Linked DNA regions of Homo sapiens: region 1 is linked to region 2. Evidence: promoter capture Hi-C in human tissues and cell types (Jung and others, 2019). All regions are on one chromosome and are shown on one strand. Each heading gives the region's core, a stretch centred on a gene start or on the middle of the fragment in contact. The rest is flanking DNA. Distances are from core to core; before and after follow the strand shown. Region 1 holds the start of RPS6KA1 (ribosomal protein S6 kinase A1). Region 2 has its middle 51 kb from the start of MIR1976.

What was found. The method cuts DNA at HindIII sites, captures the fragments that hold promoters and counts their contacts. A contact is called where the count stands out against the background at its distance.
Region 1: a contact is called between the fragment with the promoter of RPS6KA1 here and a fragment that was not itself captured in region 2, in 2 of the 25 tissues and cell types used here (hippocampus and thymus).

The regions. Positions count from the first base shown.
Region 1 is chr1:26,528,052-26,533,632 of GRCh38, forward strand. It overlaps RPS6KA1 (ribosomal protein S6 kinase A1), which reads left to right and starts at 1,710. Exons shown (of 22, transcript NM_002953.4): 1 at 1,710-1,932. The coding sequence starts at 1,870. It overlaps LOC124903884 (a long non-coding RNA gene), which reads right to left and starts at 3,347. Exons shown (of 2, transcript XR_007065558.1): 1 at 3,147-3,347; 2 at 1,069-2,510. RefSeq lists a silencer at 1,595-2,074 and enhancers at 2,316-3,226, 3,227-4,138. The HindIII fragment of the contact is 11,905 bases long and covers 1-5,581 here.
Region 2 is chr1:26,603,268-26,608,772 of GRCh38, forward strand. No RefSeq gene overlaps it. Among named protein-coding and RNA genes, the nearest start is that of MIR1976, 51 kb to the left of the region's middle. The HindIII fragment of the contact is 7,565 bases long and covers 1-5,505 here.

The DNA of each region.
Region 1 (5,581 bases), core at 460-2,959, 77 kb before region 2:
TCCTTTCACTCAAAATTCAGTTCAACAGCTGAGGTCCTACCCTGGGAAAGCCATGGAAAAGGGGGAGCACGTGGATTCTGGAGAAATCCTTATCCACTTTGATTTTTTTTTTTTTGAGATGGAGTCTCTGTCGCCCAGGCTGGAGTGCAGTGGGGGCTATCTCCGCTTACTGCAAGCTCCGCCTCCCGGGTTCACACCATTCTCCTGCCTAAGCCTCCCGAGTAGCTGGGACTACAGGTGCCTGCCACCACGCCCTACTAATTTTTTGTATTTTTAGTAGAGACAGGGTTTCATCATGTTAGCCAGGATGGTTTCAATCTCCTGACCTCGTGATCCGCCCGCCTCGGCCTCCCAGTGCTGGGATTACAGGTGTGACACTTTGATTTTTTTAAGCCCTAGTCTGTTCTCAACCTCTTGTGTGACCTTGGGTAAGTCACTTCATCTTTCCGAGCTTGTTTCAGGATTTGTAAACTAGGTGGTGGTAATCATTCAAGGAAATCACATGGCTCGCAGGAAGCTTTTGATAAACATTCCTTCCCATTCCCCTGCCTTAGAACAGCTTTGCAAATAACTGACCAGTCTTCCTGCGAAACCAGCAAGCTTGTCCCTCCAGCAAGCTCACTCCTCACATGTGAATACATCTCAGCACACCCGGACCCCTAAGGCTCTTTAGGTGGAGGCTGAATCTCTCTGGGGCAACCAGTCTCCCTGGCCTTTCACTCCAAGTCCCACCAAGCCTCGGTTCATCCTGGGAGCCTGGTCCCTCCTCAGAGAGTCGCAAACCCAAACTAGTCCAGAGCTGGGGCTGCAGGTGACTCCAGGGAGACCTGACCTGAAAGGACCCCCTTCAAGTGATAGGGCAGAGCACAGATTGCAAAAACGCATATTAAGAAATCACTCTTGGCCGGGCGCGGTGGCTCATGCCTGTAATCCCAGCACTTTGGGAGGCCGAGGCAGGAGGATCACTTGAGCCGGGGAGTCAGAGACCAGCCTAGGTAACAAAGCGAAACTTCGTGTCTCTCTCTCTCTCACTATATACACACATACATACATATATGTGCATATATATAATATTTATTTATACATATTTATTTATATATGTAATATTTATATACATTATGTAAAATCAATCGATCAATCAATCACTCTGTGGTGGCACTATGGGTCCTGATGGTGGTAACAACTGCTGATGCCCATCTTGGCCTGGGGCACTGAGATCGCCCGGAGATCACAGTGTTAGCTTCAGGGCGGGGTAGAAATTAGAGGATAGGGGATCTCTAGGGCCTGGTGAGTTGAGGGCCTAAGGGGAGTGGGTCTCAGGCTCCTTCCAAGCCTCAGCCTAGATCAGGCCCAGGAACCCAGTGTGAATGTGTGTGCTGGGGTCGGGGATAAGGTGCTTCTCTCCCGTTGGAAGGAGAAGGAACATCTGGGCTGGGATTCCAAAAGAGCTGAGCGGGGGAGAACGGTGGCCCTGGTGTGGTGTGTCCAGGGGTACACCACTGGAAGGGAAGGAGCCAGCAGGGCCTCTCCGGCGGAGCCGAGCGCGGGCCGGGGGCTCGCGGCAGGGGCGGGGCCGGCCCTCGGGGCGCGGCGGGGGCGGGGGTCCGCGCTGGGAATGCCGCGCCGCGGGGGCTGGGGCGGGGCTTCTCCGGCTCCGCCCCCGCGCAGGTAGCCAATGGGCGCGGCGGCGCCGGGTGACGGAGGGAGCCGAAGTGCTAGTGCCGCGGCGGCGGCGGCGGACGGCCCAGCCGGAGCGCGAGGGGCTCGGGGGGGCGCGGCGGTTCGGGTCGCAGAGCCAGGGACCCCAGGACCCGGGAGGCGGCGCAGCCGGGGCCGCCGGAGGAGCGCGGGTGACCTGGCGGCGGCGAGATGCCGCTCGCCCAGCTCAAGGAGCCCTGGCCGCTCATGGAGCTAGTGCCTCTGGACCCGGAGGTGAGTGAGCGGGGCGGGGGACGGGCGCCCGCGGCCGGCGAGCCCGGATCCTCACAGGGGCGGGGCGGCCCGAAGCGCCGCTGCAGTCCGGCGGGCGCCCGCGAGGGCGCGAGTGCCCTCCGATCTCTTGCCCACTGTCCGGCTCCACCCCCCTATGCCCGGGTGTGCGTGTGCGAGGGACAGTTCCGCCAAGCGCCGACTACCTCCCCGCCATAGCCAGGAGAGGGGATCCTATGGGGCGCTGAGATCTGGTCGCCTTCACCCCACACCTAGGACCCGTCCCGGCATCTGTCCAGAGCTGTCGGAGCTTCCTCCATTAATGCAGACGGGGAGATCTTCAGTGCCAGATGTCTGGGATTCTACCAGAGACAGGGGTTATGGGACCCCCACTTCTCCCAGGGCCCTCCGCCAAGAGCTCCCTGCTTCTGGCTTCACCGCTGCTGAGCCTAGAAGGATTGCTCCTCTTGACCCCTGGCGGATGCGGAGTGTGGGATGGCACCACCCGTCTGGGGCTGGAACTCCTGGTTTTCTTTGCCCTGAGGCTAGGGCCAGAGGACACCTGTGTGCCCTACCCCAGGCTGTGGAGACGAGAGTGGGGAAGAGCCCTTAGACCTTGTGAAGATGATTCCTGGCAGGGCGTGGGGGGACCTTGGTGCCTGCCTCCCTTCTTATGCCCCTTCCGGTAGGAAGGGCTGGGCCCTTGGGGAGTTTGGCTTCTGCCAGCCCAGACTCCCCAGACAACCCAGCTCCTTCTCTCTCAGAAGCAGCTCCTGACCTCCCTTGAGGGCTCTGTGGCTCCAGTCCCTAAGCGTGCAGAAGGCCACCTCTTCCTGTGCCTTTTGACCCCAGGGTCAAGGTCAAGCCCCTGAATGAGCTGGTGGAAAACTTCCTCCTTAACCTCTTGCTGGGAAGGAAGCAGGTGATATTCTCCTTCCCAGGTGGTTGTTGGGGGTATGCAGGGAGGGAATGGAGACCTCATTTGAGCCCAGGAGCTGAGATGACTTTCTCCCAGCTTGGGCCTGGAGCCCCTGTCTCAGTCCCCTCCTCTGCCCTCTCTTACCTAGGGCAGCCACCAAGTGTCCTGCCTCTCAGGACCACAGGCTTAGATCAGGGTGAGCACCCAGGGTCCCCAGCCCCCAGGGTGTGCTGCCCCTTTAAAGGGATGGCCGACACTGGCTATTGGAGGGTGGGCGCGGCAGGATTAGGTAACCAACCTGAAGGAGCAATTTGGAGTAAATTGCTCTGGGATTCCTGCCATGGGGATTTTACAGGCACTGCTAGGCTGCTCAGAGGTTCTCTCGCTGACTCACCCTCTGAGGTGAGGAACACTGCCCTCTGCAGCCCCTGTACTGCCACCCCGCTACTAGGACCGGGGCGCAAGGTCCTGGGGGTGGTGCTCAGAGGTGGATTCCTTTGCCCAGGCACGCCCCTGGGACCAGGCCTCCAAAGGAGAAGGTAGGGCTGGGAGAGGCTGGGGAGTGACTTTATGCTGATAGGGAGGGTGGACACCCAGGAGCTCGATCCTGGGGCACCACTTCCTGCTTCTCTTTAGGGAATCCTGAGGCAGGGGCCAGCTTCACCAGGGAGCCAGGTTTAACTGGGAAACTCATCTCAGTTTTGAGTTCTGTAACATCTCAGGTCTGTGAGAGGGGAAGACCAGCGGACTTCCTGGGATTGGTGGGGCAGGGGGACGCAATTTCCTCAGGAGCTTCGCTCCAGAAACGATGTGTGATCCTCAGTCAGTCCTCAGCCTGTCTGGGCCTCTGCTTCTCCAGTGGCAAGTGCTAGGTTCTAGCCTCCACTTCCTGGGCCTGAGAGGGTGCAGAGCGCTGGGTACTGTTGTCTGGTCCCCCCTCCCCCACTCCTGGAGGTGCCAGGCGACTGGGTGTTATTGTTTGGGTAACAGGAGCCACAGGGCAGCCACGGCGCAGGTTGGGCTGTTCTCACTGGAGAACAGGGCCTCGCTGTTCTTAGCCCAGGTGACATGTAAGCGATACAGCCGCCTGACCTGCACGTACAGGCACCACCACTGCTGGCAGCTCCTAGCCAGGAAGGAGGCAGGTGAGGGGCTGGTGGGGGACTTTTCACAGGGACCTAGGATCTGGACTGCCCTGCCCTCCCTTAATGCTGCTGAAAATGGGCCGCTGGGAGGCAGGGCCTGGCCCAGGGTGCAGCCCAGGTGGAGTAATCTATGGGAAGCGTGGGTGAGGATTCTGCCTGGGCCTCGCTTAGCCCTGTTGAAAGCAGTAGCCTTGTCCCCAGGCCCAGTTCTGCCACGTACAGAGCTTTACTATGTGCCACCCACTCTGCCTTACGAATGTCACCCCACTTTAATTCTCACAACAGCTTCTCAAGATAGGGATTATTACCCCTGTTTTCAGATGGGACAACTGAAAACTCAGGCTTATGTGTTAATATCAGAGCCAGGATTGGAACCAAGATCTCTCTCTTCCACCAAGTGGGAGAGAGGCTCAGGGATGGGGAAGGGCTGGAGCCACACTAGCCCAGGTGGAAGGTGCTCCAAGAGAGGCTCCGGATGTTGGCGGACTCTCCTTATCCTGCAAGGCCCTCGTCCAGTCTTTGCCGAGGGCTGGCAGTGCCAGCCAGCCCTGGCACCTGGCCCCCAGCCTCCAGCAGTGAGCAGGGCTGCCAATGCTGGGCTCAGAACCCAGCTCCTGGGGCTGCTTCCTGCCTGTGGGGCACGTGCTGTCCTTCTCCATCTGCTGCCCAGCTTCTCCAGACGCTGCCCTGGGCCCCTCTTTCTAAGACAGAGTTGCTTGGGTGGGAAGGAATGATGCCAGTTGGAACCCATTTCTGACATCTCAGAACTGGGGGCAGTGGTCTGGGGCCCTGGGCATCTGTCCTCATGAGCAGTGCTCTCTGAGGAAGAGGGAGGAGTGTGGGTCTTCAACCTCTAAGAGGCCAAAGGACTCCTAAGACAAAGTCCTTCATTCAGTACTCTGCAAGGTCAGCACCATTGTCCCCATTCAGTCATTTATTTAGCACTTAGGTGATAAGTACTATTTCAGACAACAAAGTGCAGATGTCAGCAAGACACACCTGCCCTCGTGATACAGATGAGGAAACTGAGACTTTATTACTATTATTATTTTTTGAGACATAGTCTTGCTCTGTCACCAGGCTGGAGTGCAGTGGCGTGATCTCGGCTCACTGCAACCTCCACCTCCCGGGTTCAAGTGATTCTCCTGCTTCAGCCTCCTGAGTAGCTGGGACTACAGGCCCGTGTCACCATGCCCAGCTAATTTTTGTATTTTTAGTAGAGTCAGGTTTTCACCATGTTGACCAGGATGGTCTCGATCTCTTGACCTCGTGATCCTCGTGATCTGTGAGGCCTCTTGGCCTCAGCCTCCCAAAGTGCTGGGATTACAGACATGAGCCACTGCGCCTGGCCGAAACTGAGACTTCAAAAAGTGATATGAGGCCACGCGTGGTGGCTCATGACTGTAATCCTAGCACTTTGGGAGCCTGAGGCGGGTGGATCACCTGAGGTCAGGAGTTTGAGACCAGCTGGGCCAACATGGCGAAACCCCGCCTCTACTAAAAATACAAAAATTAGCCAGGTGTGGTGGTGCGGCCTATATTCCCAGCTACTTGGGAGGCTGAGGCAGAAGAATTGCTTGAACCCAGC
Region 2 (5,505 bases), core at 2,444-4,943:
TGTATGGTATATTTGCAGGTGCATAATTGGCCAAGTGCTCCAGGGGTTATAAAGATTGCCTTCCTGTAGTTGGAATAGACAGATTTAGCCTCTTACTGAAACTGAAGGCTGCAATGTCGATAACAAATCTGATTCTAACTCTCCTGTGTCACTTCAGCCCAAAGGTGCCTTTGTCTCCCAGGAGAAAGAGGTTAGAGGTAAGTGAATGGCCCTTAACCAGAGCCATGTAGAAAACATTGCTAAGGAAGACTTCTGTCCTGAGAGTGGAGGTTTAGGGCTGTTGTGTGTGAAGTAAATTTGCTTTGTTCACAGCCAATCTGACTGAATGCAAGTATTGCTGAGGTGACTGGAGCTGAGCAGCAGCAAACTGCTTTAAAAGCAGCTTTCAGTGGGAAACTTTAAGCATACAATGACTTTATTTTTGTTAAACATAATTCTCCAACCTTGCTTTTTTATTGCACTAACCAAAATAAATCTGGATAAACTTAAAAGGCTGCCTTGATGTCAGTAGGAAAATGGATATTGTCTCTCCCAAAAGTGTTTGAATGGTAGTACATAATCCAGCTACATCCAGATAAGAATACACCTCCGCCTGTAGAAAGCTTTCCTGGAACGGAATATCACCAAGAGTATTCACTTTGGGGCTTGATGGTTCCAGCCCGTCTTACTAAAACTTCTAAAGAAATAGTTTGCCTGCTCTTTCACTCCTCCATTTGTAGTTAATACTTATGTGTACTTAGTGGTGTTCTGAACTCGTTTTATTTCTCAAGGCCTCTGGCATTTGATGATACCTGTGTAGCAGGAGCTTTCATCATACCAAACACAGGGTGGTGTTTAGTGGAGAAGGGGCCAGGAGAGGAAAAAAGCCTAGGCTTTTTCCTAAGTTACTTAACTTGGGAAACCAATGGGCTCCTTTTAAGATTAAATGTGTCTTTAAAATACCAGGATCTTCAGTTATGAAGATATGGGCAAAACTGCTTCCCCCAGACAAACCTGAGGTGGGGGATGTAGGTGTCACATTCAAATCAAAAAGGTGCCTCTCGACAGGAAAGATTTAATCAGCTCTCCTTCCCAGGATCGGCTGCCAGGTTTGAACATTTACTTGTCTGAGTTCCAGGCAGGAGACACTGCTAATTATGGGAGCAATTCCCATGGCTACAGAAAAGAACTGTCTGAGCTGGGGAGTCAAAGCTCTGATCAAGAGGGGACTGAGAGGAAAAAAGCCCCCAGCATTCTCAGAGGAAATTCTGGAGTTGACAAGATACATGCCTTCTCTGCAGGAATGCCCCCTATGTCTGGCATTTGAAGATCTAGAAACATCCTTCCCTTCACCTTCCTAACTTACGTGTTAAGAATCCCTTTGTTTGACAAATAGAATTTTCAAAGCAGTTTCTTTCGTTCAAACACTACGTGATTAAGTTTGTTTTGGAAAAAAACACAGAATGAGGACTTTACTAAGAGTGATTCTCACAAATGATGGTACCTGAAAAGAGGCAAACTTGGCCATCAGGGCAGCCAAAATGGCACAAGCATTTGGAACTTGTTGCCTTATCCTTGGCAAAAACACCACTGGATCCTTTCCGCTCTACGTAAAGTAAGCTGTGGCAAAGTTTACTTTTCTTGTGGCACAAAATCTAGACTCACAGTGAGCTTCTTCACCATTAGCTTCAATTTATATTCTGCCTCTCTTCTTTGTCCATTATTCAGGGCACCTGCTCTCTGTCCCTCCCCCACTCCTCCAGCTGTCTGTCTGTCTCATTTGTGTCAATTAGGAATTCAATACTGCTTGATTTAACTGAATGACTTTCCCTGTACAGAATCTCAACTACAGACAGGGCATCAACCATCACTCCCATTCCCCAGAATAAAAAATTCTGAAAAGCCAAAGGCATGCAAGGATACCTAAGAAAGGAGCAAGAGGTCCTTGCTAGCTATGGCAGTGAGCCTGAGAAAGATGGCAAGACCGCATTTCCTGACACCCAGTTATGTATTTGGTGGCCTACCAAGAGTCAGCATTGCATCCAAGATCATTTGAGTCTACTCTATTTAGTAAAGGTTTTCAAAGAGGATCATAAGACTTAGAAATCAAGAACCAACTGGAAGAAATAAACTTTTTATATCATTTCCTAGTTTACAACATGCTTTCCCATCCTCAGAAGAATGACTTTGTCTTTCTGTTAATTCAGTCATTGAAAACATCGGTCCTATTCTTTAGTCAACTGCCTCTATTCACCTACTATGTGCCAGGCAGTGTTATCAGAGCTGAAAACAGTGTTCTAAGAACAGAAAATAAAATAAAGTTCTTATTCTCATGCAACTTACATTCTAATGGGAAGGATCAAAATAATAAGTAAGTAGACCTATAGTGTATTAAATGATAATGAGGGTATTGAGAATCATAAAGCAGTGTTAAGGGAGATAGAAATTATGGTTTGAGCAGAGTCTTTTTTTTTTTTTTTTTTTTGAGATGGAGTCTCACTCTCTTGCCAGGCTGGAGGGCAATGGTGTGATCTCAGCTCAATGCAACCTCCGACTCCCTGGTTCAAGCAATTCTCCTGCCTCAGCCTCCTGAGTAGCTGGGATTACAGGCACGCGCCACCATGCCCAGCTAATTTTTTGTATTTTTAGTACAGATGGGGTTTCACCATGTTGTCCAGGATGGTCTCGATCTCCTGACCTTGTGATCTGCCCGCCTCGGCCTCCCAAAGTGTTGGGATTACAGGTGTGAGCCACCGCGCCCGGCTGGACAGAGTTTTTTTAGTTTACAAAGGGTAGACAGAAAGAACTCACTGATGAGGTGATTTGAGCTGAGACATAAAAGAAGAGGGAGAACAAGCCATATAAATATGAGGGGGAGGAGCTTGCCAGGCAGAGGGCACAGCAAATGCACAGGTCCTGACACAGGAGTTTCCTTGTTGAAGGAGACCAATTGTAGCTAAATAGAATAAGCCAAGGGAAAGATGTAAGAGAGGTCAGGAAAGTGGGAGTGGAGGGGACAGACTTGTAAGGCCTTGTAAATCATTGTGGGGTCTTTGTTTATTTTGTTTTGTTTTGTTTTAGACAGACTCTCGCTCTTTTGCCCAGGCTGGCTGAAGTGCAGTGGCACAGTCTTGGCTCATTGCAACCTCCGCCTCCCAGGTTCAAGCGATTCTCCTGCCTCAGCCTCCCAAGTAGCTGGGATTACAGGTGTGCACCACCACACTCAGCTAACTTTTATATTTTTAGTAGAGACAGGGTTTCACCATGTTGGCCAGGCTGGTCTTGAACTCCTGGGCTCAAGTGATCTGCCCGCCTTTGCCTCCCAAAGTGCTGGGATTACAGGTGTGAGCCACTGTGCTCGACCTCTCTGTTTTTTATTCTGAGTGAGATGAGAAGCCACTGGAGGGTTTTTAGTAGGGGAAAGACTTATGTTTTATGATATGACATAAAATTATTTAATTTTTTTACAACGGGGTCACCCAGGCTGGAGTGTAGTGGCGCAGTCATAGCTCACTGCAGCCTTGAACTCCTGGGCTCAAGTGATCCTCCTGCCTCAGTCTCCTAAGTAGTTAGGACTACAGGTGTGAACCACTATGCCAGCTAATTTTAAAATTTTTTTGAAGAGATCGGGTTTCACTATGTTGCCCAGGCTGGTCTCAAACTCCTGGCCTCAGGTGATCCTCCTGTCTTGGCCTCCCAAAACACTGGGGTTACAGGCACAGGCCACCACACTCAGCCTCTAAAAAAATTTATGGGTACATAATAGTTGTAAATATGATTTATGTTTTTAAAGGATTATTATGGCTGCTGTGTAGAAAATAGAAGGTAGGAGTGGAAGAGCTGAAGCAGGGAGACCAGTTAGGAGGCAATTGCAGGAATCAAAGCAAGAAATAATGGTGGCTTGGGTCAGGGTGATAGCAGTGCAGGTGGTGACAAGTGGTCATATTTTGGACGTAGAGGTGCCAGGATTTGCTGATGGATATGATGAGGAATATAAGAGAAATAGAGAGGAGTCAAGAATATTGTGAAGCTTTTGGCCCAAGCAAGTATTAGATAATAGTGGAAAGAACAGAGTCCTTGAATCAGAGGCTGTGAGAGACTAAATCTCAATTCCACGGTTTATGGATTGTGTAATCTTGGGCAAGTCACCGAACCTCTCTGAGCATCAGTTTCTTCATCAGTAAGAAACCTTTTGAAATATTGTGGCTCTAGGATCTTCTCAATTCTCTCTTTGTTAACTTACCATTCTCTAATGGCTTCTCACTGTATTTAGAATAAAATACAAACTCCTTTGAGGTCCAAGAAAGCCCTGTATGGACTGGCCTCACCTACCTCTCCAACCTGTCAGCTACATTGAGCTTCTTTTTGTGTTCGTCTGGTAACAAATAGAACCTGGTAACCCAACCCCTGCCCTCCCCTCCCCTCTCCTCTCTTTCTTTCTTTCTTTCTTTCTTTTTTTTTTTTTTTTTTTTTGACAGGGTCTTGCTCCATCACCGAGGCTGAAGTGCAGAAGTGAGATCAGAGATCATGTCACAGCTCACTGCAGCCTTGACCTCCCAGGTTCAAGTGATCCTCCCACTTCAGCCTCCTGAATTGCCGGGACTATAGGCACATGCCACCACACTCAACTAATTAAAAAAAAAAAATTGTAGGCTGGGCACAGTGGTTCATGCCTGTAATCCCAGCACTTCGGGAGGACGAGGAAAGCAGATCACTTGAGGCCAGGAGTTTGAGACCAGCCTGGCCAACATAGTGAAACCCCGTCTCTACTTAAAATACAAAAAATTAGCCAGGTGTGGCAGCTCGCGCCAATAGTTCCAGCTACTCTGGGGCTAAGGCGGGAGAATCGCTTGAACCCAAGAGGCAGAGGCTGCAGTGAGCCGAGATCATGCCACAGAAGTCCAGTCTGAGAGACAGAGCAAGACCCCTCTCAAAAAAAAAAAAAAAAAAAAAAAAAAATATATATATATATATATATATATTTGTAGACACTGGGGGGTCTCCTTATGTTGCCCATTTGAATTCCTGGGCTCAAGTAATCCTCCCACCTTGGCCCCACAAAGTGCTGGGATTACAGGCATGAGCCACTGCACCCGGCCAGAATTTGATAACTTTCCATCTTTTTTTTTTTTTATTTTCAAGAGGGAGTTTCGCTCTTGTTGTCCAGGCTGGAGTATAATGGTGCGATCTCGGCTCACTGCAACCTCTGCCTCCCAGGTCCAGGGGATTTTCCTGCCTCAGCCTCCCGAGTAGCTGGGATTACAGGTGTGTGCCACCATGCCCGGCTAATTTTTGCATTTTTAATAGAGACAGGGTTTCACCATGTTGGTCAGCCTGGTCTCGAACTCCTAACCTCAGGTGATCTACCCTCCTCAGCCTCCCAAAGTGCTGGCATTACAGGCGTGAGGCACCATGCCTAGCCGTAACTTTCCATCTTAAGAACTATCACTGGCTAGGCACTGTGGCTCACACCTGTAATCCCAGCACTTGGGAGGCCAAGGCGGGTGGATCACCAGAGGTCAAGAG